Linked DNA regions of Homo sapiens: regions 1, 2, 3, 4, 6 and 7 are each linked to region 5. The links are contacts of gene promoters, found by promoter capture Hi-C in blood cells and fetal thymus (Javierre and others, 2016). All regions are on one chromosome and are shown on one strand. The core of a region is centred on a gene start or on the middle of the fragment in contact, and the rest is flanking DNA. Distances in the headings are between cores, read along the strand shown. Region 1 overlaps TNR (tenascin R). Region 2 overlaps TNR (tenascin R). Region 3 overlaps TNR (tenascin R). Region 4 overlaps TNR (tenascin R). Region 5 holds the start of TNR (tenascin R). Region 6 overlaps TNR (tenascin R). Region 7 overlaps COP1 (COP1 E3 ubiquitin ligase).

What was found. The method cuts DNA at HindIII sites, captures the fragments that hold promoters and counts their contacts. A CHiCAGO score of 5 or more calls a contact.
Region 1: a contact is called between a fragment that was not itself captured here and the fragment with the promoter of TNR in region 5, in 4 of 17 cell types (erythroblasts, megakaryocytes, naive B cells and 1 more). The highest score is 6.5, in erythroblasts.
Region 2: a contact is called between a fragment that was not itself captured here and the fragment with the promoter of TNR in region 5, in 3 of 17 cell types (naive B cells, erythroblasts and total B cells). The highest score is 6.0, in naive B cells.
Region 3: a fragment that was not itself captured here is called in contact with the fragment with the promoter of TNR in region 5 in 2 of 17 cell types (erythroblasts and naive B cells); the score reaches 5.8 in erythroblasts.
Region 4: a fragment that was not itself captured here is called in contact with the fragment with the promoter of TNR in region 5 in 3 of 17 cell types (total B cells, naive B cells and erythroblasts); the score reaches 6.6 in total B cells.
Region 6: a fragment that was not itself captured here is called in contact with the fragment with the promoter of TNR in region 5 in 1 of 17 cell types (total B cells); the score reaches 5.0 in total B cells.
Region 7: a contact is called between a fragment that was not itself captured here and the fragment with the promoter of TNR in region 5, in 3 of 17 cell types (endothelial precursors, megakaryocytes and erythroblasts). The highest score is 12.1, in endothelial precursors.

What each region holds. Positions count from the first base shown.
Region 1 is chr1:175,377,845-175,381,810 of GRCh38, reverse strand. It overlaps TNR (tenascin R), which reads left to right. Exons shown (of 23, transcript NM_003285.3): 9 at 2,074-2,259. Among named protein-coding and RNA genes, the nearest start is that of KIAA0040, 190 kb to the right of the region's middle. The HindIII fragment of the contact is 598 bases long and covers 1,182-1,779 here.
Region 2 is chr1:175,398,128-175,402,241 of GRCh38, reverse strand. The region is part of intron 4 of TNR (tenascin R); the gene reads left to right. Among named protein-coding and RNA genes, the nearest start is that of KIAA0040, 210 kb to the right of the region's middle. RefSeq lists an enhancer at 1,390-1,918. The HindIII fragment of the contact is 1,955 bases long and covers 1,832-3,786 here.
Region 3 is chr1:175,355,951-175,359,588 of GRCh38, reverse strand. It overlaps TNR (tenascin R), which reads left to right. Exons shown (of 23, transcript NM_003285.3): 16 at 3,127-3,270. Among named protein-coding and RNA genes, the nearest start is that of KIAA0040, 160 kb to the right of the region's middle. The HindIII fragment of the contact is 519 bases long and covers 1,600-2,118 here.
Region 4 is chr1:175,427,371-175,430,949 of GRCh38, reverse strand. The region is part of intron 2 of TNR (tenascin R); the gene reads left to right. Among named protein-coding and RNA genes, the nearest start is that of KIAA0040, 240 kb to the right of the region's middle. The HindIII fragment of the contact is 172 bases long and covers 2,210-2,381 here.
Region 5 is chr1:175,741,606-175,745,713 of GRCh38, reverse strand. It overlaps TNR (tenascin R), which reads left to right and starts at 2,119. Exons shown (of 23, transcript NM_003285.3): 1 at 2,119-2,488. The HindIII fragment of the contact is 6,381 bases long and covers 1,778-4,108 here.
Region 6 is chr1:175,339,217-175,343,260 of GRCh38, reverse strand. The region is part of intron 18 of TNR (tenascin R); the gene reads left to right. Among named protein-coding and RNA genes, the nearest start is that of KIAA0040, 150 kb to the right of the region's middle. The HindIII fragment of the contact is 341 bases long and covers 2,256-2,596 here.
Region 7 is chr1:176,071,255-176,075,208 of GRCh38, reverse strand. The region is part of intron 11 of COP1 (COP1 E3 ubiquitin ligase); the gene reads left to right. Among named protein-coding and RNA genes, the nearest start is that of MIR1843, 100 kb to the right of the region's middle. The HindIII fragment of the contact is 2,706 bases long and covers 485-3,190 here.

The DNA.
Region 1 (3,966 bases), core at 231-2,730, 360 kb after region 5:
CAATTAGGAGTTTGTAAAAGGAAGCAACAGAAAAGTTTTAAGCAAGGGAATTACTTAATCTAATTTATGTTTTAGTGGCTAGATATGTCTATTCCATAGTCTCAAGTCTCTCCACACAGCCTCCACTAGACATCTGTCTTTGCCTCGCTCTTGACTTGCTGACGTTGCAGGGAACAGCTCCCACCTACAGGGGTGCCCTTGGTGGCCCCAGTCTCCTAGAGGTCAGACTTCAAGGCCAGAGGGAGCAAACAATTTCACCTTGTCCTAGCTCTAACAACCACCTTTCCAGACCTCATTCTCAGGATTGACTTCTTTCAGGATCATTGACATTGGAGGTATCTGGTCCCTTCAGAGACAACACTTCCCCTTAATCTACAGACCACAACCCCTATGATCAAAAATACAAAACAACAACAACAACAACAAAAACCATAGTTTAACATTTCCAAGGCCTGGGTTTTTAGTTGTGAAGAGCACTAGGTAGAAGTCTCAACCTTAACCCTAAACCTAAATTAATTTTGCCCCAGTTCAGTTCTAGCTGCACACCCCAAGCCCAGTCCAGTCCCTTTGCCCAGCTTCTCCTCATGCATGAAATTTAGGGGCAACAATGCAGGGGCAGGTGTTCCTCCACATGCCTCTCTATCCAAGCTCCTCTCTCCATCCAACTGCTGGAGAAATAACACACATAACACGTCAAGAATACATAGTATCTGGCAAGCTAAAGTACAGTGAGTGAGGAAGAATTTCTCAGGAAAACAAGCTGCAGAGCCATAAATCTGCTAAAAGATTCACCCAATTTACATCGCTAAACAGAACACTTCTCACTCCAAAGCCTCTGCGCTCACATTGATTCACGGCATTTCAGTCTTCCACAAGAACAATTGGTGGAAACTTGCCTTGCTTTTGCATATTAAAACAGTCCACTCGAGGTTTTCTCACAATGAATGGCTAGTTCACTCCAAAGTTAAATTCAAGTGTCAAAGGCAAGAACTATTTTAAACGTTTTAAGTGACAGTTGTTCCGGGCAGCACGTTATTGCACTGCAAGTTGTTTATGCTGTTTCTGCCCAAAGCAGCTTGAGGAGATAGCCAGTCCTGGGAGAAAAAAAGCAGTGTCCCCGTCGTCTCTTTGTGGCAACTGCAGAGAACAAGCATTGTGGTTGATGGAACTCAGGAAAAGCTTCAGAGGCAACAGGAAGCCAGCCCAGGCCTTGGGCACCTTTTTTTTTTTTTTTCCTTTGGAGACAGAGTCTCACTCTGTGGCCCAGGCTGGAGTGCAGTGGTGTGATCTCGGCTCGCTGCAAGCTCCGCCTCCCGGGTTCACACCATTCTCCTGCCTCAGCCTCCCAAGTAGCTGAGACTACAGGCGCTGGGCACCTATTTTTGTACAGATGCCCATGGATTGCCTAATCCATGCAACAACCTGAAAATGTTGGTATGATTTGCCCCTTTTACAGAGGTGCCATCAAGGCCAAGCAGGGTTAAAAGACTTGCTCATGGTTCCATTACCAAAGATGTCAGAGCTGGGGATCAAACGGAAGCCTGACTCCAAAGCCTATATTATTTCTGCTACATCACATCCTCCATATATGTCTTACCTTTACAGCTGTGTTTATTCAAGTAAACACAGAGGAAGGCACCTTACACTTCAAAACCTTGAAATCAACAGTCTTCTTTTTGTTTAGTGGTCAAATTTGATATTGTTCTATTCCATCTCCATCACTCGGGAGCTGGCTCTGATTTTCTCCTCCTGGGGTTTCCCTTGTTTTGTTTTTAAGCTTATGATGTTGACTGGTTCCTTTTAAAGTTTCTAGAATGCCACTGGAACTCTTGAATGGAAATGGGGGAAGCATAAAGTGTATTGATCTTCAGCTCCCAAGTATCACTCTAACCTGCCCAAGGAATTTGTCACAGCAGACCAAAAAGCTAAGGGTAGCCACAGTGTTCATTCAAATGTGAGCCAGAGGGTCAGGGGGTGTGGGCTGTCACCACCAATCTTTTCAGAGTTCAAGATGCACCACAAATGTACATTACATTATCATGTGCGATGTTGGTGATGTCTGTCTATTTTTAGAGATCGATGCCCCCAAGAACTTGCGAGTTGGTTCTCGCACAGCAACCAGCCTTGACCTCGAGTGGGATAACAGTGAAGCCGAAGTTCAGGAGTACAAGGTTGTGTACAGCACCCTGGCGGGTGAGCAATATCATGAGGTACTGGTCCCCAGGGGCATTGGTCCAACCACCAGGGCCACCCTGACAGGTGAGTAAGACCTATCTCTTGGGGTTATGCTGGTTGCTGAGTCTATACCCTCACAGCTGTCTCCCCAACCTACACATCTTACAAACCCATGGCCAATTCCTATTGATCTCATCTCTTAAGTGCCTAGCACATATGTCTAGTACTATCCATTGTACTGCCATCACCTGTTCTAAGCTACTAACATCTCCTTTTTTTGAGACGGAATCTCTCTGTCACCCAGGCTGGAGTGCAGTGGCACAATTTCAGCTCACTGCAACCTCTGTCTCCCAGGTTCTCATCTATTATCTTAACCATTGCAATAACCCCCTCACATTGTCTCCTGGCCCACTCTTCACACCTCCTCCAGTGACTTTTTTTTTTTTTTTTTTTTTTGAGACGGAGTTTCACTCTTATTGCCCAGGCTGGAGTGCAGTGGTGTGATCTTGGCTCACTGCAACCTCTGCCTCCCGGGTTCAAGCGATTCTCCTGCCTCAGCCTCCCAAGTAGCTAGGATTACAGGCATCTGCCACCACGCCCGGCTAATTTTGTGTTTTTAGTAGAGACAGGGTTTCTCCATGTTGGTCAGGCTGGTCACAAACTCCCGACCTCAGGTGATCCGCCCACCTCGGCTTCTCAAAGTGCTGGGATTACAGGTGTGAGCCACTGCACCTGGCCTTCCAGTGACTTTTTCAAAGTACATTTTTGATTATGCCATTGCACTGTGCAGATATTCCAGGGAATTCCCACTGCTCTTAGGATAAGCCCAGACCCTTAGTGTGGACACCAGGCCCTGCCTGGTTTCCCCTGCCCTCTCCAGGCTCACCTCCCACCCATGTTCCCTGATGTTTTCTGGGCTCCAGGCCCACAAGTCTGCTTCTTTCCATTTCTCAAATACGTTTTCCCTCCTGCTATATAGGACTGGCAAATGCTGTTCCCTCTGCCTGATGGGAACCTCTTCATCTAGCCAATGCAGGCTTCCCTTTCCACTCCCAGGTTACTCCCCACTTTAGGGAGCTTTAGTGGTCAAATTTGATATTGTTCCTGAGAGAGTTCCATTCATTCTGTCCGGCAGCTTCATCTTGCCAGTTTCCATTCACTTCTTAGCACTCCTCAGGTTATCATTTTACATGTGTGGCATGACTATTTGACTGTCAGTCTCCACCCTACACCTAAATCTCTGTGAACATTGCACCATATTTGGTTTTGCTCATCATTGAATCTCAGGGTTCACCATTTCCTGAATGAATGAATGAATGAATGAATGAATGAAGCTGCAGAAGTTCACTATGACTTGGGCATGGATTGCAAGAATTCACTGATAAAATGAGAGCCGAGTCATGCCTTATGCACCCGATGAAAAGTTTAGGTTTATTCTTGAGGGCAACAGAGAGTCATTGAAAGATTTTAAATAAGGTGATGTAATGACTGGATTGTACAGAGAAGGGCAAGGTCAGAGGCAGGAAGACTGGTTAGGAGGCTGCTGCTGGAGTCAAAGGGAGATGATGATGGCATGGACTAAGGCAGTGTCCTCGGTCACCATGATACCTGGCTGGGAAGTGTTCCCTGTCCCCTGGGAATGTGAGACCCAGGCAACACCACTCCTGGGGCCTCTGGCTCACCCATCCAAGAAAACCTCCCTTCCCAAACTCACCAAAGAGTAGAAGACTGGAAATGGGGGTGTGGTTTTCAGATAAAGGAGATGCTGTGCAGAACAGTCATGGACCAGGA
Region 2 (4,114 bases), core at 1,560-4,059, 340 kb after region 5:
TCCGCTTCCCGGGTTCACACCATTCTCCTGCCTCAGCCTCCCGAGTAGCTGGGACTACAGGCGCCCACCACCGCGCCCGGCTAATTTTTTGTATTTTTAGTAGAGACGGGGTTTCACCTTGTTAGCCAGGATGGTCTCGATCTCCTGACCTCATGATCCGCCCGCCTCGGCCTCCCAAAGTGCTGGGATTACAGGCGTGAGCCACCGCGCCCGGCCTGATTCCCTTTTTTATGCAAATCAGATTATGTTTATTATTTCACTATAGCTCATCCTCTTCTGACTAAATCAGTGACTACTGCTCATACATTTGTTTATGTTTTAAACAGTACAGATTAAGTGGTTGGTCTTTTCCATTCAGGGCTCAGAGAGCCCACTGGGATTATTTAAAATAAAAAATAACAACAAACAAACATTTTAAACCTTCTAATGGAGCAATTTTAGGAATTTGCTGATAAGTCATGTGACATCAGTTTAAGGGGGAAAGCCTGGTAAGCCGGATTCACCAGACTTCTGTAAGCCAGAGTTACTCACTCCTACGTGGCAGGCAATGTTCCCGCACATGTAACTTCAACTTAAATTATTTTCAAAAATCAATGGTAATAATGAAAAGAAAAACAACAATAATGCACTGTGCTTAGGGAAAAAAATTTAATGTTCCTTAATTTTTTCCATATCCAATTATTTCATTTAGCCTCCCAATTTTGTTTACTGAATTGAAATATCTTTCTAAAAATATTGTCACCACACCAATTATCCCAAAGTGAAATTCAAGCAGAAGTTAAGCCTTATTGTTTCTGAATCCAAAGTCACTAGGCACCTTCTGGGAAGCCAGGCTGACAAATGGCTCCAGTTTCCATCCAGGGGATGAGGCTCCATGAGACCCCATCTGGAGGACACCCAGGGTCAGTGTGGGCCATCGCTGTGTTAATGCTATTCTGTAGCGCACATGCTTCTTAGTAGACTTACTCTTTGGCGGTCTGGACATACCTGTCATATTCTTGACCCTGCCTTTCTACAGGGATAGGTTCATTTGCAAACAAAATCTTGATCTAATCCAGGACTTACACTGAACCCTCCTGGCTACCTCAGGGAAGACTCAGCAGCTGCTAGCATAGCTACAACTGGGTTGAGTCCAAACTATGAGCACGTTACCTCTGACATGGTACCTCTGTGCTGCTTGAGGAACACTTCAATAGGCCCAGATAAATTACTTTACAGGTTCCCAAAGCATGTGAAGAAGGACAGTTGCATAATCTCCATCTGTTTCTATAGCAACCCTAGAGCCACCACTCATTTGCAGGAGGTCTGCTCTTAAGGCCTGCTTTTTAAACCAAGTGCTACAGGTCTCTTCCAGAGAAGTATCTAGGTCATTATCTAAAGTGCTCCTTTGCTTGCTCTTTGTGAAAAGACTGTAGGAGAAGGGGCTATTTATCCACTGTTTGACGTTCCTGGCCGGGTGCACACACCACAGCACGATGTTCCCATTGCCCATGGGACTGAGGAGAGGAGAGAGAAGGGTTAGGAAGGTGAAAACACTGAGAGCCACAAAATATACTTCGTTATAGGGCATTCTTTTCTCTTTGGCAAGGGCGTAGAAAATAGCTGCCCATTGTGTGGATTGCATTCTGAGGCCCCCTAGGTCTGCAGCACTTAAGCACAATTGAATAGTGTTGCCAAGGTCACTACTTTTGACTCCTAGCCTTGATCTATCCTCATAGTGTGCCAAGGGACAAAATCTCAAGACTTCTGCCTCCATTCTCTGCCCATGTACAGATAATAGAACAAAACATTCATGAATATGAGAACTTAAAACAGGCCTTAGAAAGAAGCTTCTCATTTTACAGATTTAAAAAGCAGCAGTCAGTGAGACAGATTTTCCCAGAGCCAGACAGCTAATTAATGGCGGAGTAAGAAAAAGAATCCTGGTCTCCTACCAGCTTCTAGCACTCTTTTATCTTCTCTGGAATGCAAAGTAGAATAGAATTGAAAAATAAAAATTTTAAAGCCATATACACAAAGAAGTAGCCTTTGATATGAAAGCTGAGCTCCATCACATGATTAAAAAAATGAGACGTCAGAGGTAGGGTGGAAAAGCACATTCAACCATTTGTCCACATCTGTCCCCAGTGATGGTGGTTAGTGCTGGGGCTGGCCAGGGAGCTGGCCAAAACTCCCCCGGAGCCAGCAGGATAAAAGAACCATCAGAACAGGGTCTTGAGACAATCCAGAAAGCTGTTTCCTGGACTTCAGTCAGACCTGCGGAGATTCATCAGTGTCAGCCTCTGCTCTGTCAGGACTGCAGCCAGCCCAACCTTTGGCACCCGAAACCACTTACTCTTTGGAGTAAGACACATCATGGAACTAATTCCAACTGCTCTCACCACATAAGTGCAACATTTATGCAAAATCTAAAGAGGAAACAGCATGGCATCTTTGCAGATAAGCAACCCTGATTCCTCAAGCCACAGTTTATTCCTCTTTAACAGCATGCTCTTCCTCAAGTTTCAAAGTTGACACCCCAAAGAAAGTAAGGCTAAGAATACTTTGCACCCACCGTGAATTCATTGAATTAAGGCATGAGGCTCTTTGATTGTTTGCAGTACAGTTCAATATAATTTTCTTTTATAAGGATTACTGATGCCTAGTGTACATAGTTGCTGCTAATTTAGAGTGAAAGTGGTGGTGGTCTCCTCCATTGAGCCACCATTGTCAAGACCACTTCCACGAGGAATGACGCCAGTTGCTGCTTTCTCATTCAGAAGTGTAGGCAACTTTACCACCAGGCTCAGGCCTCAAGCTAAGTTGCCAAGATTTTTTTAAAAATCCTTCTGCACCTCTTTTTTTTGCTTTAAAATCCCAAAATGCTCTTCTTAGATCACCCTCTATTGTTAATATTAGCTTTGAAGAAGGAAGCAAAAAGGAATACGCTGATTTGTTCCAAATGCCCTAAGAATTGCTGGTGACTTGAAATTTGGAGTGGCCATTTCTGCCACTATGACAGAAGTCCTGCATAGGAAACCTGGAGTTAATGTGTTGAATCACAGGAGACAGGCACTAGAGAACCTGTTTAAAAAGAATTTTCTTACCTGTAGGATGAGCACCAGTCTAGAGATCACACCTATTAAGATCGTCTGAATTATTCCTAATATAGTTTACTTTGGGACACCATGTATAAATGAAAGGAGGCATCTCGCGCAATCTGTAACCTGCTGTCTAAATTGTAGGGGAAAGAATGAAAACTGTAGAACATCAGGGTTTGACAGTCAGTTCTGCTATGACCCACTCTGACTTTTGGCACATCCCTTAACCTGGGATTCAGTTTCCTCATTGGTAAAGCTGGGATAATTATCTCTACATGAACTACCTCATATGACTGCTACTAAATATTTTTTTAAATTCTTGTTAGATGGTATATATGAAAATAGTTTATAGACTGTGAAATGCTATATAAATGTAAAGTGGTATTGTATATTGGCTAAGAAGGTTTATAGTCATTCTGCCTGCATTCTAATCCTAGCTTCTATGTTTGCTGACTGTGTGGCCCAATTTCGTCATCTATAAAATGGTAGTAATAATGATACCTTAATCCCATGGTGTTGGTGAGAGGGTGAATTGAAATAATCTATGTAAAAGTGGTTAGCATTGTACTTGGTACATAATAAGTGCTCAGTATAATCATGCAAAATCCTGACAGGTTCTAAATATCAACTCTTCTTCTCATGGCCTAGGAGTCATTCTGTATGTGTTATATAGGTTGTCCCAAAGGTTTTAGTGAAATTCAAAGCTTTAATAAGGTCAAAACTATAGGTGATACAGTTTATAAAACATCATTTGAAAGCTTATTTAAATTTCGTTTACACTTCTTGAGTTTTATAAATTTTAAACAAAAATTTTTTTTAATTTTTGTTTTGGTCAACATTTGCCATCCTCAAGAAGCTCTGCTTTCTAGACTGTTTTATTCAATGAATGGTTTTAGGCAAAAGTAATTGAAGCAAATGTCCAGCAGTGCATATATATGCTGCTGATTCTATCCTGTGAGTCTTGGATCTGTTAAAGGTCTCCTTGTGTCTCTGTCTTTGCTGAGGATTTGAGGGTGCACATGTGAGTACAATGA
Region 3 (3,638 bases), core at 610-3,109, 390 kb after region 5:
TCAGGCAGGTGGGAATGGTGGGAATTGGAGCTGCAGACCAGTATGATGTGAATAAACAAAACATTTTTTCAATCTGAAGGACAGATTAGAAAAGTTCCTACTTCAGGTATACTATGAAGCCCTCAAGATATCCCCAAACTCTATGCTGGGCATCGTGGCTCACACTTGTAATCCCAACACTTTGGGAGGCCAAGGCAGGCGGATCACTTGAGGTAAGGAGTTCAAGACCAGCCTGGCCTACATGGTGAAACCCCATCTCTTCTAAAAATACAAAAATTAGCCGGAAGTGGTGGTGCAAACCTGTAGTCCCAGCTACTTGGGAGGCTGAGGCAGGAGAATCACTTGAACCCAGGAAGTGGAGGTTACAGTGAGCCAAGATCACGCCATTGCACTCCAGCCTGGGAGTCACAGCAAGACTCCATCTAAAAAAAAAAAAAAAAAAAAAAAAAGAAGATATCCCCAAACTCTGCAAACTGTATCAAATCTAGGAGCTGAGAAAGCTGAATCTGAAAGGTACAAGAAAGGCATGTAACCAAGGGCAAGTACAAAAACAGAGCAATAGCCCTAGGAAGATGAAACTCAGAACAGAGCTAAGACTTGCCCCCAAAATGCTACAAACAAGAAAGCAGGCTTTTCTAAATATTCGCAGAGCAAGAAAAACACTGAAGATATAGGACCAAGTTTGAAACAGAGAGTACAGGCTAACAGGTGACAAAAGATTCAGGACTGCTAAACTCTTCCGTGTTTTTGTCTTCTCTATTCATATCCAGCCCAACAGGTTTAACTAACACGAAATCTTGAAGTTCACTGTCTTCTGTATCATGCTTGTTCACCTTACACCATTTGAAGTTGAACAGAACAGAGAAGCCCAAAGCAAAATAGAGTTGAGTCCTCCAAGTCTCTAGGCTTAGGGAAGTTATTTCCCTGCCTTCATCAAACATGTGATCACAGAATTGTTTTGGGTTATATTCAGGAATCCAGAGAACAAAGATACCAGAAGACAGAAGGCAGGCAGATGTCTTGGTTTTCAAAAATGACAGAGAAAGCTAATTCTGTGAGCTGCAAAGAAGTAAACTTATTGTCAAAGCTTAGGAAGGTAAAAACTAAAACAGACAATTAAACAACTTGGAAAAGGAATTAGTGATTACCATATAGCAGCACAGATTCACCAAGAATAAGTTTTATCGAAACTACTTTATGTCTTTGTTTTCATTGGCAAACCTGCTAGTACATTTGTATTTCAGCAAGGCATCAGAAAACCCCACTTATCACTTAGTCCTTAGTTAACATGGAAAAATACATGAAAGGTCATATTTGGAGGTAGCTGGGACTGTAGCTGAATGAATGACCCTCCATGAAGAAGGGATAGCATTACTATGGGTATGTCCTAACCCCTCTGTGAGCATGCACAATCCATCTCAATTCCTGTCACCCCTCCTTTCATAACATGATCCCGCATTTTTTAATTATCACCATGCTTTCTCAAGCCTCCATGCATTTGCACATGCTATTTCTTTCACCAGGAAACTCCCCCATTTGCCTGCCTAGAAAACCCATCCTTCAAGTCGTGGTTTCAACCCTATCTCTTCTGTCAAAGCTTCCCTGAAGGCAGTCAGACACATCTGCTCACAGACACTAAACACACAGCTCTAACAGAGCAATGAACTTCCATTCATTCCACAAATACTTTTGATGCCCTACCATGTGCCACACACTCTATAAGGCTATAAGGATTCAGAAACAAAAATTGAGCTCTCATCTTTATGGAACTCACTTCTAATGATGTTGCAGAGAAGTAAATAGTTACAACTTGATGTGAGCAGTGTATGCTATAGACATGCACAGAACACCATGGGCCATGTCCAGTGGGCTACTATGAATAGGGTCAAGGTGTGGAGGGAAAGAAAGAAGAAAAGTCTTAGATAAAGTGAAAGAAGAAAAGGAGAAGAAAGGGAATTTCAAGAAAAAGAGCAGACTGTGGGCATTTGCAGAGATGTGAGAGTGTAAGAAGTCTGAAGAACTACCATAGTTTGGTATGGCTGGAGCATTAATCAATGGCATGATGTGCAAAGGGGGACATTAAAAAGATGATATCCTTATACATGCTCTTCCAAAGCTTAAGCATTAGTTTGAATTTTAACTTGTTTGTATGCCTTTAGACCACAAGAAACTTGAAATCTCAAAGCCCTACCTATTCTGAAAATGTGCCTAGTAAACTGTTAAATATTAAATAATTTCCAAGTATTCTAATTGCCCAACAGAGGAGTTGGCCCTGAACTAATGAACAGTTTTATCAACAGCTTGAATGAATTCAGAGAAGACATGCTTACCAAATTTGTGTATAAAACAAAATTGTGATCAATAGAATCCAAGTTCAAAAATATTTTAATCAACTGAAACAGTGGCCCAAAACTCAATCAATGAGGCAAAATGCAATAGAAATAAATGCAAAGCTCTGTCCATGGGTATAAAAAATCAACTAACAAAATTGGATTGAGAGGTAGGGGGAGTGGTTACAAAGAAGATCTTTGATTAGCAATAATCTTGGCATGTGATAACAATATCACATGGCATTCCCAAAACCTTACTAATTAATATAAGTGGCACAAGCACAGACTGACCCTGTTTATTTCATTGGTCAGTACCTCTCCATTATTCTCAGTTCTCTGAGTTTTGGACTTTAGCAGGGACATTGATAAACTGTTACGTGTTCAGAGAAAAGTAGATAGGACTGTGAAGGTTTTAAAATTGTCACATAAATGTGATGGGAAGTGGGGGCTGAATTTTCTCAGTCTAGTGGAGAGAGAACTTGATTAGGAAGGGTGGTGGAGAGGAAGGGGTCATGTACACAAAAGACTAGATTTATCCTTAATAACTCCAGAGACACGAATAGAAGTTATAGAGAAGACAATTTGACCTGCACATAAAGAACACTTTTTTTCAATTATGATATGAGATGAGAGGGGAATCCTTGCAAAGAGTAAGATACTAAGCTAGATAACCTATGAAAGATTTTTTTCCAAAATTCTCTAGTAGTAAATCCATGTGAAATACCTTTGGATTTGGTAGATCTTTCCTAAACTGAGTAGCCTTATTCAACCCTTATTCATATTCATTTGAGTTCAGTCGCTGGAGAGACCATCCTTGTTGACGGAGTCAGTGAGGAATTTCGGCTTGTTGACCTGCTTCCTAGCACCCACTATACTGCCACCATGTATGCCACCAATGGACCTCTCACCAGTGGCACCATCAGCACCAACTTTTCTACTCGTGAGTACATGGTCACCTACATACCCGTATCCCTGGGGACTTTTGTGGAAATGATCAGCTTTCTTGTGGTGGACTAGATTATCACTTACAGGCTTTGGACAGGGCAGCTATGAGCTGTTCTTATTTGGACTGACTACAGCCCAAATTCAGTGAAACTAAGCTGCAACTTTTGGCCAGCAGAGACATGTCTGTTTTCTGCTCTCACCCTGGGTGACAGCAGAAGAACCAGGTCAAGAGAGGTCTGTACTCGGAATGCATCTGCCCCAGAAAAGTCTGATGGATATTAAAAGGCTAGATATCTAGGAAAGAGCTGCTGAGTAGAGTGATGAATAGGAGAAAGTAGACATAGGTAATATGTGGAAACGTAA
Region 4 (3,579 bases), core at 1,046-3,545, 310 kb after region 5:
CAAAATACTTTAAATAGTTAAAACAAAATTTTCCTTTCCATAGAAAATTATATTTTTTACTACAAAATATAAAACAACCCATTATTGCAGTAATAATTTTCCTTTAAGTAATGATGTTTCCCTGAGCCCTCTTGTCTATATGGTAGATCAAAACAAGTTTTATCTAAAGACAGTGAGAGGAAAGCAGAGAAGAAACTTGAAATATTTCAGTGAAAAACATGGTTATCTTTGGATGTAAAGGAGAAGTATCAGCCAGCATTGAAGGAGGAAGGTTCTACAGTGGAAGGAGCATGGAACCAGGATTTAGGAGACCTACATTCTAATCTCAGCTCTACCGCTAAGAACTGGTTTTTCTCACCTGTCAGATAAAAAGGTGTAAGGTGATCTCTAAATTCTGCTTTCTGATTCCATGTCTTGGAGTCTGTACTCATTGAAAGTGCATAGAGATGGGAGTGAGAGTAGTGGGAAATATTCCAGGACATAGCATGATTTCAACCACTAGAATGATCTTCCTAGCCTGCAATATGAGAAAACAAATGTTCTCATTTAGATTGTTGTCTAATTCTGATTACAGGATGCCTGACTTAATTCCTACTGAAGGAGTTAATTCTTAAGAGTCATCTAGGTTACCATTCAGCAATTTCTTTCTCACTTTTACTATTACTATGACTGCCATTACTTTGGCCATTATTTAACTTCCTCAGGCTCTAAGCAGAGTCAATTCTAAACAAAGCTGGCTGAGAATTTGTTGGTGCAATAGAATTTGTTGTCCAAACTATTGCTTGGGGTTTCAGAAACAGTTGTGGTGAAGTACTGCCACATTTTTCACCACTAAATGATAATAGATATAATATCATTATCTATATTATAATGTTATCATTATCTATATTATATCTATATAATAGATATATTATATAATAGATATAAAATAGGCTGTATCTCACATACATATTCCATCATTTTTGTAAAGTTGCACAAAGTACTGTGAGAAGGTTGGCAGGCGAGTGTGCTGTGATCAATTAGCAATGTCTGTCATGAGGGAAAACTCAGAAGTAAAGACACGCATATCACTTATTTGCTAACCCTGGGCTTCTGGGCTTTTGGGCTACCAACCTGTGCCTTCTTGGTGATGAGACTACAATGGCAAGGATCAAATTCTTCCAGAGAAAACATCTTTCCTCCATCAGTGACATTATACAAAACTCTTCTTCCATATTCTAGACCCTACCCAGTTTCTCCACCTATTCCAACCTGTGCTCTACATCCTTGGGAAGCACTTTACAAAGAGTGTTTCATGTAATATTAATCTCATAAGATGCTATTTAAAAGAAGGCCCTTTGGTTTTACATTCAGGATTCTCTGCATGCCAAATTCAGCTAGATACTAGTATTTTCATGTAGTAGTTACTGAACACTGATCATGTCATAGGTTCTGTTCTAAGTGATTTGTAGGTATTAGTTAAATTAATCATCACAACTCTATTTTGCCCATTTCACAGATGAGGAAACTGAAACAAGAGAGCAACTATTGGAGTCAGGATTCACTCTGGCAGTCCAGGTTTAGAATCTGTTCTTTTAATACCACTTGATGCTGCCTCCCATTTCTGCATTTATCTATATTTATAATCTGTATCTTTATCTATATATCAATTCTAAATCTATATTTACATATACATCTATATCTATCTTAATGATTCACAAATCATGTTTGCATGTTAAAGACTGAAAATTTCTTCTGTAAAGAAATCTAATGCTATTTAATTCTATGATTCTTTAATTTATTTGACACAAGGAACCCCTTACAGATACTTTTTTCTCCCTTTGCTTTGCTTCTAATCACAACCCATATCATAGAATATTCTAGAGCACCATGAAAATATCCTTCTGAGGACTGAGCTATAAAATGGAAGGATGAAACTCTTAAATCCTTGGCTCTGATTTCTGCTTTATTTGGACCAAATGTATAACTAGAAGACTCAAAACCCAAGGGAGGGGTGCCAATTTTTCAGGTCCCAAATGAGTTTAAAGGGAGTCCCTAAATGGGGAAAGCAGAATGGATTCTATCCCTGGATATCCAGTTAATTGTTTAAGTAAGTGATGATAGATGACAGACAAATGAGTCATGTCAAACCAAGAATAAACTAAGAGTAGTTGGTGAGCATTTCCACTTACGTAAAATGAGAATCGTGCAGCACAGGGGGAAAAAAGCTTGAAATTCAAACTAAAGAGATTTGTATTTGAGTCAGAATTCAACCAATGGTGGACACTTTATTCCATGTTATATGGCCAACATATAATATTATGCCTGGTAGGTGCTCAAAAAACATATGTTGATTTGAACAAATGTGTAATCTCGAACAATTTACTTAACCTCCCTAAGCTTTAATTTTCTCATATATAATATGAAGATGACAATAATAACTTCGACTTCCAGGGTTGCTTAGAAAATTGAATTAGATGATGTATTTTTAAGCAAGTTTTAATTTTGAAGGCTTATGTAAATGTCAGCTGCAAGTCCTGTCATCATTAACAATAATAAACTTAGCAGGATTTGAAACCCAGCCATAGTAGCTTATATCAGTTCCCTCAGCCATGTCTCACCAGATTTACGCCATGAGTAGGAGATGCTGGTCAGCAGTAGGCATACAGGGATACGCAGCCTCTAGTACAGCAAGAATTAAAAAGGAAGACCATTAAGGACAAAGAGGGACAAGCCCTAACCAAATTATCTTCTAGATCTGATGAAAAGCTTCCCTAAAAATTCCCTTAGATGCCAAGGCATTGGTTTACTGTTGATACATAATAGCTATTCAATAATTGTTTGCTGAATTCACCAACTTACACATCTTGAGGTTACTTAAAGAAGTAGAATGTCTATCTTCTTAACTTTCCCCTCAACTGTTCCTGAAAGCTACAAAAAGATAGGATTTTTATCTAAAAATCTAGACACCAATCCGAAACCCATTCTGCTGTAATGCATTTTTTGGTGCTGGGAGGGAAGTGCCTGGGAAATGGAGACAGGAAGGAAGGAAGGAAGGAAGGAAGGAAGGAAGGAAGGAAGCGAAGAAGGGAGGGAAGAAGGAAGGAAGGAAGGAAGGAAAAAAGAGGGAAGGGAGGGAGGAAAGAAGGAAAAAAGAGGGAAGGGAGGAAGGAAGGAAGGAAGAAAGGGAAAGAAAGAGGGAAGGAGGGAAGAAGGGAAGGAAGGAAGGAAGGAAGGAAAAGAAAGAGAGAAGGAGGGAAGAAGGGAAGGAAGGAAGGAAGGAAGGAAGGAAGGAAGGAAGGAAGGAAGGAAACAAAACACTTCTCATATACCTGTAAAGACCATGATAAAAAATAAAAAATAATAAAAAATAAACCATGATAAACACTTGGTTCTTCTTCATGAACTAGCCTCTAAAGCTACCCTGCCCAACACTGTAGACACCAGCCACATGGGACCATTGAGCACTGAAATGTGCCTAATCCTGTGCTGTGAGTGTAAAAATACATACCAGATTTCAAAGACTTAGTATAAAAAAGCAACATACATCACTCATAATTTTTATATGGATTTCATGTCAAAATAATAATATTTAGCTAT
Region 5 (4,108 bases), core at 870-3,369:
TCCATGAGTTTGCACATGCTATGCCTTCAGCTTAATTCTCTCACCCACTTTTTGCTGGGAAGACTTCTGATTATTCAGGCCTCAGCTTAGATGCTGCATACCTTAGGAATTCCCCTAGCCCTCAAAGATCAAGTTAGTTGTGTTTTCCATGTGCTCACTGCCCAAATTCTTGGCACTTAGTCCTTGAATTGTAATCATTTGTGTCTTGCTCTTTCTTTCCCCCTTTGAGGAACTGGTAACTCTGTTGAGGACAGGGACCATGATTTGTTAATTGTCACCTACCATCTTTGTCCTACTTCATCCACTTTTCACCCAAAAAAAAAAAAAAAGCCAGAAAAAGTAAGCCACCTCAGCTAAGGAATTCATAATTCTGAGATTCTGAAGAAAATGTCAATTTCTCACTGAGCGTTTATTACCTGAATGCATTACAACGTTTCAGCTCTTCAAATTGCTGGCTCCGTTCTTGCACTGTGTTAGGCAGTGGGCAATAATTTGCTTTTGGTACAGAAATTGAGTGATGTGTCTTCTGAACTGATGTTAAAACCCAATAGTTTCCAATTTTATAAGATTTAAAGCCAGTTTTGTATATGTGAAACTACCCAAATCACCAAGAGAATTAATTTTCTTAGGAGATTCTCATCGGTAATAGCAATTTCCACAGTTTGTTTGGCACCCCTAGTGGTAAATATTTTATTTTAAAAACTCAGCCACATATAAATTTATTGTAACAATCTAGGCACTTTGTCATAAATAAAAGCAATGATAACTGTGGTGCTATCTTCTATTTACTTCAAATGTCACTCCTGAAGTGTACATTTATAGAACATGGTAATTCAATGAGGAAGCTCCAGGGTCAGATGGCTCAGGTTCCATTACCATCCCTGACACTCACTAGTTGTGTGATCTTTGGAAAGTTATTTCATTCCTCTGTTACTCAGTTCCCAGTCTATAGAGTAGCAATAATAGCCTCTGCATTATAGAGTTATTGTATGGCTTAAATGAGCTAATACATGTAAGGGCTTATAACAGTGCCTAGCACCTGGTATAAACACTCTATAAATGTTAGCTATTGTTATTTGCCAGGAGTGAATCAAATATAAGAAGAGTGTTTGTATAAGATTACCTTTAAATTCCCTGCCAATCCTGAGGTTCTATGTTTCTATATCATTCCAGTCCCTTAGCATTCCTATTCAGTAGGGAGGGGGCAGCATTATCCACATTTTACAAACAGTAAAATTGAGCCATAGAGAAGCAAAATGTCCAGTAAGCAAGTGGCAGTCTGAAACCAGGACTCAGATTTTTAGATGTAAGTATTAGGACTCTTTCCGGGAGGCTGTGTGGCTGTACATTTAAAAGAGAATGTTAGATATCCCTTATGAGCCTATGAGCAGTGACCCCTTGATGCCCCTTCTCTGCCAAGGTTCTCCATAAATGTGCATCAAGGTCACTTCTGTCTCTACTTCTGAGATGATCTCAGGCCATATCTTTTCAGATATTTTTCTTACTAGCTTTACAAAAAAGCTATATTGTGGAGTTGGATGAAGGGCCAGCTCCCTGTATCCTCTGCCTCTTTAGGCATTCCCATGCCTGGGTTGTGCTACGTATACACATACTTCACCTGGCTGCAGACGCTGACTTTTTGGAGGGTTCCTTCTGCTGAGCCCGGACCTCAAACCACTTGAGAACCCCACAACTGACCTTATTCCAAAACATTCTATCCCAACCCATTCCACCCTGGATTTCTCCTTCAATCATGGGCAAAGGATCTGCAAAAGCTTCCATCCTCTCCCTTTCTCTTCTTATCTGGGTTGGTCAGAGGGAAGCCTCTATCTTCTTCAGGACCCTGCCTATGCAGAGGCAGCTCCAAGAGTTGGGTGCGGGGAGTATTTCTGTGCCTGAATCTGGACTGTTCAAGAGGATTTAGGATGCTTTTCTTTTCTGTCCACTAGGGGGCTGCTTGTAGGGGGATGGAAAAAACGGAGGCTTAAAAAAATCATGCTGCTGAAATTTCAGCAAGAGGGGAAAAGAGAGAGCGCGTGAGAGAGAGAGAGAGAGAGAGAGAGAGAGAGAGAGAGAGAGAGAGACAGCAAAGCAGTCCCAGGCTTCCTCCTCTCTTTCACGTCAGAGGCAGGAACCGACTGTGCTAAGGCTGTTGGCTCAACACCCAGAGGAGACGGGCAGACCCAGGGAGAGTGAGAGAAGGGGGTCCTCTCTGACCCAAGGAATTACCACTAGTGGAGTGAAGCCACCTGACTTTTTGATCTTATTTTGGTTGCCTCCTCATTCTCCTTCCACCCGTAGCCCTGACAGCTTGGGTTTCATTTCTTTCGTGGAGCCTTGTCTCTTCCTCCCAGAATAGGAGGAAGGGAAGAGAAGGGAAAGAGGAGGGCTCTCTAGGTGAGCGCATCAGCTGGCTCCAGCCTGAGCAAGCAAGAATTTTCTTCCCAGGAAGCTCCTCTCGCTCCCCGGCCGCCCACCCCCAGCCTGGGTAAGTCCAGAGCACTCGCTCCTTTGATTTTCTGGCTAACGTGATTTCAGCACCAAGGAGAGCTATGAGATGCATTTTGGTTCCTGTGTATCTGTGTGTTCTGCAAGGCATTTGGCACTAGGGTTACATCTATTTCTCTGCTGCCAGTAGAGTCGGGTTCTGCGTAGGGAAAAGAAAGGCGCAAAACTATGTTTACCGAATTAAAGGGGGATTGGACTCTGGCCTTGCGGGTGTGTGTGTGTGTGTGTGTGTGTGTGTGTGTACTGTTGCATAAGACAGGTGAGGTCTGAGCTAAATTGCGGGTGGTTTCTGCGTGTCTCCATGTAAGGCTGTTCTTTTTGTCTGTAGATAAGCGAGATGGTTTGGGGAATTAGTCGTGCACCTTCTTTAACTCTCTCCCGACAAGCCATCCATGGTGGGAAAGAGTTGCAAAGGAAGCCTGGGGGGTTGGGAGTGGAGGTAGAGTTAAAAGTTACGCACCTCTGAGAGAGCTTTAAAGAGGTGCTTTGTAAAATGTCAGTTTCCTAGTATTCTCTGGGCTCTTGCTGTGGAGAGAGCCCAACCTGACCTTTTACTTTCTCTTCTGGTGTGAACCCATGGTAAGTGGGCAGGTGCAACAGGTGAAGCTCAGGCTGGGGCGGCTTTGGGGGGTTGAGGTCCCTTCTGACTTCATGGTGGTAGGAAAGTGCTAGTGTCTTGAGCTTTGCAGAGACTGGCTGGTGTGGGTTATATTACATTTGCAAGGAGGCAGGAGGTACCCTCCACTTTTATGCCATCTTTGGCTATGGGTGGTTGGAAAGAAGACAAAGTCTGTTCTGCCCTGTTTTCTGGGGCATTTGGCAGTGAAAAACAACTAAGAATAAAGGTTTGTCTCTATATGTCTAGGGTGAGCAGAAACAAAATTAGACTTGTCCCAGACTCAGGAGGGCTTGAAGTGGTACTCTGTTCTCCTCCAGCACTGAGAGGCTCTGCAAACAGGAGCTCATTATTACTTCTTTCTTCACTGCTGCTACTTTTTGCAAGGTATTACTCTGTCTCTCCTGCTTTCTGCCTCTCTGAAGTATGTTCAGTCAATTCCCTGCATCTGCTTTGGTATTGTCTTGGAGACACTATAGGCCTGCCCCTGCCCCATTCAGTCCTGGCCACACCTACCTGGTTGAGTCATTCAACAAGTGGTGTTGAGGATTTCCTTCAATCATTCAAGTCTCCGTGGAGCCAGCATCCTACAGGGAACTTGAAAGAGATGTGGCTTCTTGTAGGAGCAAGTCTTCCCTTGATTTAACCCCTAACTGTTTATGGTTCTGGTCACTTTCTTCAAGTGTGTTGAGACAGGGGAGATACATAGGCAAGGTGGGGTGGTTTCACTCTTTCCAACCCCAAATGGACCCTAGAATGGTGATTCTTTGTCTTATTTTTAATTCAGCACAATGGGCCCCTTCTCCAAGATGAAGAAAATACTCTCTGCCTCTGGCTGGGGAGCCTTCTGGGTGAGAGACACAGTTCTGAGTGAAATGGCACCACTTTTCTTTTTTACTATGCTTGGCATTGGATCCAGAAATCTTAGCATCTCCCTAGAGTGGCAGGAAGTAGAATGCATCCAGGAAGACAGTGAAGTCAGAG
Region 6 (4,044 bases), core at 1,177-3,676, 400 kb after region 5:
GAATAGTGAAAGTGGGGAGGAGTGCAGGACAGAGACGGAGCGTACAGGGCTTTGTAGGCCATGGTAGGGATTCTGGATTTTATTCTAATTGCAATAAAGAAGCCATTGAAGGGTTTTGGGCAAGTAAAAGATAGGATGAAATCAGATCACATTCACACTATAAAAAGGTCACTCTGGCTAAAGTGTGGAGAATGAATGCAGGTGGGACCAGAATGGCAGCAGGGAGACCAGTAGGAAGTGTCATCAGGACCCAGCCCTCCCTTGCCATGTTGAATCAAGAGCCACAGACAGGGGCCAGGCTGCAACTGCCAGTCTGTGATCAATCTAATCTGCCATGAAATTGGGTCTTCTGATATAAGTGGATCAAAGGAATAATAAGAGAAATGATGTCAGAACATTCCTCTAGTACTAGGATGCCTTTAGCTGACCTGTGAAGGGAGGATTTAGATGTCTTAGATGTCTGTTGCACTTGCCCTTGGGCAGAAGGCAGGTGGTCTGCAGAGCCTGATGACCTTCTTCCGGAACTCTGTTGAGGGTGAACACATCAAAGCTGTCTTGTTCAGTTAATTCTCCACTCACTCTATTACCTCCTTAAAGGCTATTGTCACTCTCCTCCTGGGTTCCCACCACTACATCCTGAATGGAGTCCTGCCTCCAGGCTCACCCCCATCTAATTCATTCTCCACATTGCACTGAGAATGGTCTTTCTAACAAGTTGAGCTTAAAGTCCACCAAAAGACTCTTCCTCCAATTGCCTCCATAAATGACATGATCCCATCCCTGCTTACCTCCCCAGCACTCTCTTTCCTCCATCCCACCCAATTCTTGCTCTGTCTCCTGCTAAACCTTCAACTTCTCAAAGGGGCCGTACTTTTGCACAGGTCTGGAACACCCTTCTCCACCAATTTGTGGCCAGCATCCAGGTCAGTTCCTAAAGTAACTTTCTGATTAGCAGTTGTCACCCTTTGCCCTATCCCGGGCCCCCACTTCTCACCCTGTCCTTGCCAGCCAGGCATCATTGCACGCCCACATCCAGGTTTTGCCAGCCCACAATGTTTATCTCTTTCCCAGAGCACTTAGAGCTCAAGGTTATATTTGTTTCTCCCACCACAGCATGAGCAGCCTGAAAGGTTGTGACTGTGTCTTTTCCTTCTTTATATTCCCATCTTTTAGCCCAGTATTTAGAACCCAACAGACACTCTGTTATATATTTGTTGAATTAGTAAGAGTATAAACAGGTAAATATACTGGAAGACGCTGTGAGAAAGCCAAGTGGCTCACCCCATGTGGGCTGAGCAGGTAACCTTGTCCTGTTGGCAGACTTAGGCTGCCCCTGACAGTCTAGCCAGCTACTCTGCAGATGTGCGCCATTGATTCTAACAAGGGAGAGTCAACCACAAACAAGCTTCTGGGAAAAAGCAAATCTAAGTGTTGATAACCAGAGGTGGCCGCCTGCACTTCTATGGCGCAACACTGTGTTCTGCGCTTACAGAGAAACCTGCTGAGGCTGTTTTCAGAGACAAATGCTGACATTGTGGCTTCAGTCCTGATGCTGAGGCCAGAAAAGTGGACAGACACTTGCCAGGGCCATTAAAGCTGATCATTTTAAAGGAACACCCAAGAATCCAAAACAAGTAAAGAGCAGGGCCAGGACAGAGAAAGTCTGTCCCAGCAGTGGTGGTCCCCTGACTGCACTGCGTGTCATGTAGCTTGCTCCACTCCACTCAGCATTCAGCCTCCACTTCCCAAAACAAACCAATTTCAGAGCAATTCTTCTGGTGAACGCCATGGTCCCGTTGATCTCACAATTACATCTAGAAACACTTAACTATGAGACATTTCAGTGTACCAAGCACTTGTTGTGGCTTTTCTCTTAACTTAGTAATCACCACAGCCTGTGCTAAAAAAAATAAAAATTAAAAGATTCTCCATCGGTCTAGGCTCCAGTTATTGCACCAAAAGGAAGAAAAACCTTCCAGTTTTGCTCTTGGTCTTAAGATTTTGCTTTGGGAAAAATTACTGAGCTGATATATGTTGGGGTCAGAGGCGAGTTTCTGATAATATTAAATGGTGTGACATCCAGAGAGCTAGGAGGGCCTGAAATTTGCCCTGACAGTCTCCTAAAATGTATAAAGCCCCAGTACGTTCACATTGAATACAGCAGAACAGGAACCAGTGTGTTCTTTATTATTAGCTAAGCAAAGTCCAATAACCCCCAAAGCAGAACAAAACAATAAATACTAGGACACAAAGCTTAGACTCCAGGCTAAATGCAATCTCTTATCCCCTCTCCTTCCTATCGCACTCAATCCAATTCTTGGAACCAGCCCACTCAAGACATACCTACTGGGAAAGGGAAAGAGGGGGAGAGGGAAAGAGGAGGAAAGGGGGCAAGTGGGAGAGAGAGACAGACATTCAATCTACAGTATTCATCCACACAGCCACAAGGATCTGGGCAGAGAACACAGACCACAGGGCTCCTCTGAGGCATTGCTTAGTTTACCAATTCCACTTCTTGGCCTCTAGAGAAGAGGAAAATGTGCCAGACAAAGAGAAGGTTCAAATCTAGCTGGTCTTCAGACTTGTCTGAGAAGCTTCAGTAAAACACTGATTCCCTGCGCCATCCCCTGATATTCTGATTCAGTGAATCTGCTATGGAAACCAGGAATCTGAATTTTAATAAGGTCCCAGTCTGAGAACCATTAGTGAGCCTCTGCCTTCTCTTGTCTGCAAAAAAAGGAATAATATTTTGGACAAGGACTAGAGTTGCAGGCTGAAGCAGGTTGAAAAGGAATGGTTTTGCTGTAAATGTGAGGTCTTCTCCAAGTTCCGAAGATGTGAAAATCCCAGGTTGCTGCTCTTGATAGTCTGTGTGAGCAAAATGCTTGTTGTCTTTACATTAATGCCACTGACTAAATCACAGCAAATGGAATCTATAAACAACCAAATGGCCTTGCAATTTGTCAAAGGGAAGGCAAGCGCACCCAGCAACGATGCATCATTGCCTCATGCACATCTGGGGAGTACCCGCCCCCCGCCACCCCACCAACCAGCTCATTGCCGGCCTGGAAGGAAGAAAGCATGGTCCTTCCTCTCCCAGGGTGTAATCTGGGACGTTTATCCCATCCAGTGTTTGGCACCCCTTAGAAAACACTTTTTTCTTAAGATAATTTTATTCTTATTTTTCTAACTTTAAAAAATGAATCACTATTTTATATGATAGCCATTCAGGTATTCAAAACTCCCCTTGTCTAAGTCATCTCAGTTTACTGTATTTGTCTGTAGGTCTAGCTTTAAAGCAACTAATATGTTTGAGCCTTTAAAAAGTATCTGTAATATAAATATTAAATCAATCTACATTATCAATATGAAGAAGCCTGCATGAGATCGTTTGTTTCCCCATTCTGATGTTTAGATTTATATGTGTATTTGTATGAGACTGTCATTTTGAGATTTGTGGGGAGATGTTTTGTTGGGGATACATTGGATATTGGAAAGAAATTTGGGGTTCTGGCTCCTTCAAGAAGCTGAGTTTATTGCATGAAGAAACCTTTCTTCAGGAAAAGGGGCTATTAGTGCATACCTTAGGAGTAAGCTAAAGACCAAGGGCACTAATTGCTGATCTTCTAAAATGAGAAACTCAAACAGTGAGATGAAAGGGGAGAAAGAAAGGCAGACAGGCTGGTTGTTCCAGAGGCCAGGTCAAGAATGAGGAGATAATAGCAGTGCTCCCAAATCAGCAGGGAAGGAGACAGAGACAGCTCACACCTGTCTCCTGAAATGTAACTGTAGCCTCTAGGGGTAGGTGGGATCAGGAACTATGAAGAGTTCTAGGACACTCTGCAGATGACAGTTAGCTTTTCTGCAGCTATTAAGGAAATCAGTTTGAGAGGGTATGGATATTTGATTTGAACATAGAAATTTTTGAGATCTTTAATCTTTGGGGTTTTTTTGCTTGTAAGATAAATGCAGGTATTAATTAATCCTTTGCTGTATGCATAGATTTCTATCTTCAGTAAATTCAATCATGCATTATATTTCCTG
Region 7 (3,954 bases), core at 588-3,087, 330 kb before region 5:
GTAAAATTTGAAAATGCAGCAGATTATGGGGTGCATTTTATTACATAATTTAATTAACAAAAAATCATTGATAACGTAGTGCAGGCTAGGCCAGACTAGGCATATAGTCATGAACAGGCCAGACGTGTTACTTGGATTCAGGAGAGCTCACAATCTTATTTTAGGGCCCTTATAGATAAGAAATAAAAGAATAGTTTATGAAACAGTTTACTTTGGAGCAACATATTAGCATTCTTACTTAAATTCTTAACTATGTTAAGAATGTATACTATGCTTTTAAGGACTTCAGAAATGTAGATTGAATGTGAAATGGCAAAAATAAGTATCAAAGTTTATTTATAATATTGACCTGATATGTATGCACTTACCTGTAGTTATGTGACTATACAAAGAGTAATAATCTTTTTTTTTTTTTTTCATTCCTGAAAGCCATTTTAGCTTGATTTTGGGGAAGAGATGGTTTCATTATTGCTTTTTTAAAGCTTGATTTAATGTAGTGTTGAATTTTTTACAATTGCTAATAAACCCTAATCATACTGACATTTATGTGAAAACATTGTGCATTCTGAGGCAGAAATACATTCTTAGGAAGACCTAAACAAGATCTTAGTTTGGAAATACTTACAAATTGTGGTTAGATTAAAACATTTAGACTAATATAAGAAATTTTTAAGATACCTCTGGTTGGGCCGTCTTGCATGCTACATTCGTTTTTTTTCTATTAATTACACCAAATTAATGTTTTTTAAAGAAAAAATTCCAATTTTAAAGTTTCTTAGGCATGAGAGATGAAGACTAGCAAGAAAGGATGATATGGCCAAAGAAATGAAGGTGTGAAAAACTCTCACAGCTCTGTTGATTTTTTGCTTTTCTTACTTTCTTATATTCAAACACATCATTGATAATAAATTTACTTCAACGCCTTCTAATTCCTCCCAAAAAAGGAAATTTAATTAATTTCTTTCAGAAAGAGGAATAAAGAGGCCAGGTGAGGTGGCTCACACCTGTAATCCCAGCACTTTGCGGGGCCGAGGCAGGCAGATCACTTGAGGCCAGGAGTTCCAGACCAGCCTGGCCAGCATGGTGAATCTCCATCTCTACTAAAAATACAAAAATTAGCCAGGCATGGTGGCGTATGCCTGTAATCCCAGCTACTTGGGATGCTGAGACAGGAGAATAGCTTGAACCTAAGGGGCAGAGGTTGCAGTGAGCTGAGATCACTGCACTGGGCAACAGAATGAGACTCTGTCTCAAACAAAGAGGCCTAAACAAGTATTTGAGAAGGCAGATAATGTTGAATTTGGTGCATTATTTTGTTACTTTGTAGAAGAGATAATTATTCTTACTGTAAAATTGCATGACATAATGTTGGTCACTTACTGCAGTGATAATCTGAGAGAAAAGGCCGAACCAGAAACGTATTTTTCTTCCTTTGCTTATTTGGAGTTAAGACCATACCCTTCAGTCCACAAGGTGGCAGCATTTGTTTACTTTGACAGTATCTCGACTATTAAACAATAGACAAGGTACGGAATTGGTGACATACAGTGAAGTTCACTCTCATAAGTAGAAGATGGTCCTAGGTTAGCAATGGCAAGGAACAGGAAAGAAGACAGTTAATTGCATTCTTTTTACACACAGCAATAATAGCATATTTTGCATTTTTTATTCTATTAGGTGTTCAGTGTCCACCAGAGAGAAATAGTTTGAAACTGTATAGTTTAAACTTAATATACTTAGTAGTGATGGTTGTCTTTTGAATTCCGAGTTTGAATTTTGTACAACTAGATTGTTATGGTAAAAATTGTTAAACATTCTACCTCTAGAGAGTTTTTCAATATTTTTACTTATGTTTGTTCAAACTGTTGGAATGGAGTTGTATCAAGCATTAGTAAATTCCTAAGAAGAAAATAGTTATCTATGGTGGCATTCATTGATGCTAGAATAGTCTCTGTACTGGTAATGTGGAGTGTGTTACCTACTCATTTTTAGACAACATCATAAATATTTTACATCAATTCCCTAATTCATTTAATCCTTGTATCAACCCTGGGTAGCAAGATATTGCTATTAACCTCATTTTACAGATGAAAAAAACTGAGATAGAAATTTTGTAACTTGTCCAAGATAAACCTAATGCCAATAATAGACAGAACTGAGATTTGGATACAGGCGTACCTGAATTCTAGTGCTCTTCTATTCACTTAAGGATTTATTGAAACTTTGTAAAGTTTCAGAAAACACTTTTCCTTTGAGACACCCAGAAGAAAAAGAGGAATTAATTCTTTTGAGGTTCTGACACTGTGTATCCCTATTCCTATAAGGAGGTCAAAATAATGAATATTTTTTATACTAATTTTTGACGTATAATTCTGCACCTTAGATGTCACTTTACCATAGTTTGAAACTATTCAAATTAAACTTTATGTTTCTATGATAGTTACAAGGATCATTTTTGCTAAGTTTCAATTTATAATTGCAGCAAATGTGGATCCAGATTGAGGGTAACTTTTAATATGTTCCTTATTGTAGAGTGCTTGTGAGCTTTAAATTTATACTTAAAAAGACATCTCTAGATAATTATTGACTTGTTTTCTAAGGAATGGATATGATTTTTAAGACTGCCAATGTACTTTCCCTTTTTGTCAGAAGGTATTTCCATTATTGTCTTAAGCGTTATTGACCATCTGGGGTTGGTTGAGAAATGAGATGAATGGGAGTGCAGAGGGAGGGATTTCCTTCCCAAATTTTGCCTGGGATCAGTCTTTTAAAGCAGTTATTTTTAAAGCTGTGTTTTAGGCTGAGAGATTCATCTAGGCAGGGGCCTTACCTGTCTTATTTCTTGCATATTCCTATGTCTGTAAATATTTGTTAAATGAATGCATGAATGAATGAAAATTTGTTTTACCTGCTGGGAGAGGATCCAGAGTAAGTAGGACTCTAGCATTTGTCCATATATGTCCACATATTTGCTTGTTGAAAAATATTCCTTTGAAGAAATAATCCTTAGGCTATAAAAGAAGTTTGTGAATTACCAATGACATGTGACAGAAATATAAATTCATGTTAACAACTTAAAAAGGAATGCAAGATTGTCAGCAAGTGTTGGTGAGTTTTCTACTTCTATGGTAATTCAAAACATACATGATTCAAAATAAAGGTTAAAAAGGAAACACAAACAATCTAAGCTTAAACTTTGAAAGTCACTACATGTATTCCCACCCTCATAACTTCTACCCTAAAATTTTCTTCTTCTAATCTCGACTTGGTTTTCCTGTTTATTTTCCCTTGCCTTTATTAGAGGCTTGTCAGTAGTACAGAGTGAAGCCATAAGCTGAAATAATTTTACACATATCCACAAAACAAGCATTAATTAGGTTAGCATTTAAAATTTTAGTAGACTTGTGAAGGTTTGTCACAAACCAGTGTTTGGTATCCAAGAAATAAAAGTAGAACTTACGTCTAGAAGCCACATTTTAAGGTTAATATAAGGAAGATCTTTGTAGTCAGCAGTGTGCTGAGGTAGAATAACCTTCCTCAGGAGGCAGTTGCCATACATTCTTAAGACTTTTTAAAACCAAATTCTAGCCATTTTATTTAGAAAATCTTTCTGTGATCCTAAGATCAGTTATATATTCACGTATATTTGTCTAGAATATTTTTATGCTTAATTTTTTTCAAAATCATACCTATTCATGTCAAACAGTTTAAGTGCTGAGAGTGTAAGAGTGATGTACATGGTAGTGAGGACACAGACGGTTAAGCGAGTATACTAGGCTGTTCTCGCCTTGCTATAAAGAAATACCCGAGACTGGGTAATTTATAAAGAGAAGAGGTTTAATTGGTTTACGGTTCTGCAGGCTTTGCAGGAAACATGGTGCTGGCATCTGCTCAGTTTCTAGGGAGGCCTCATCATCATGGTGGAAGGTGAAGTGGGAGCAGGCAAGTCACATA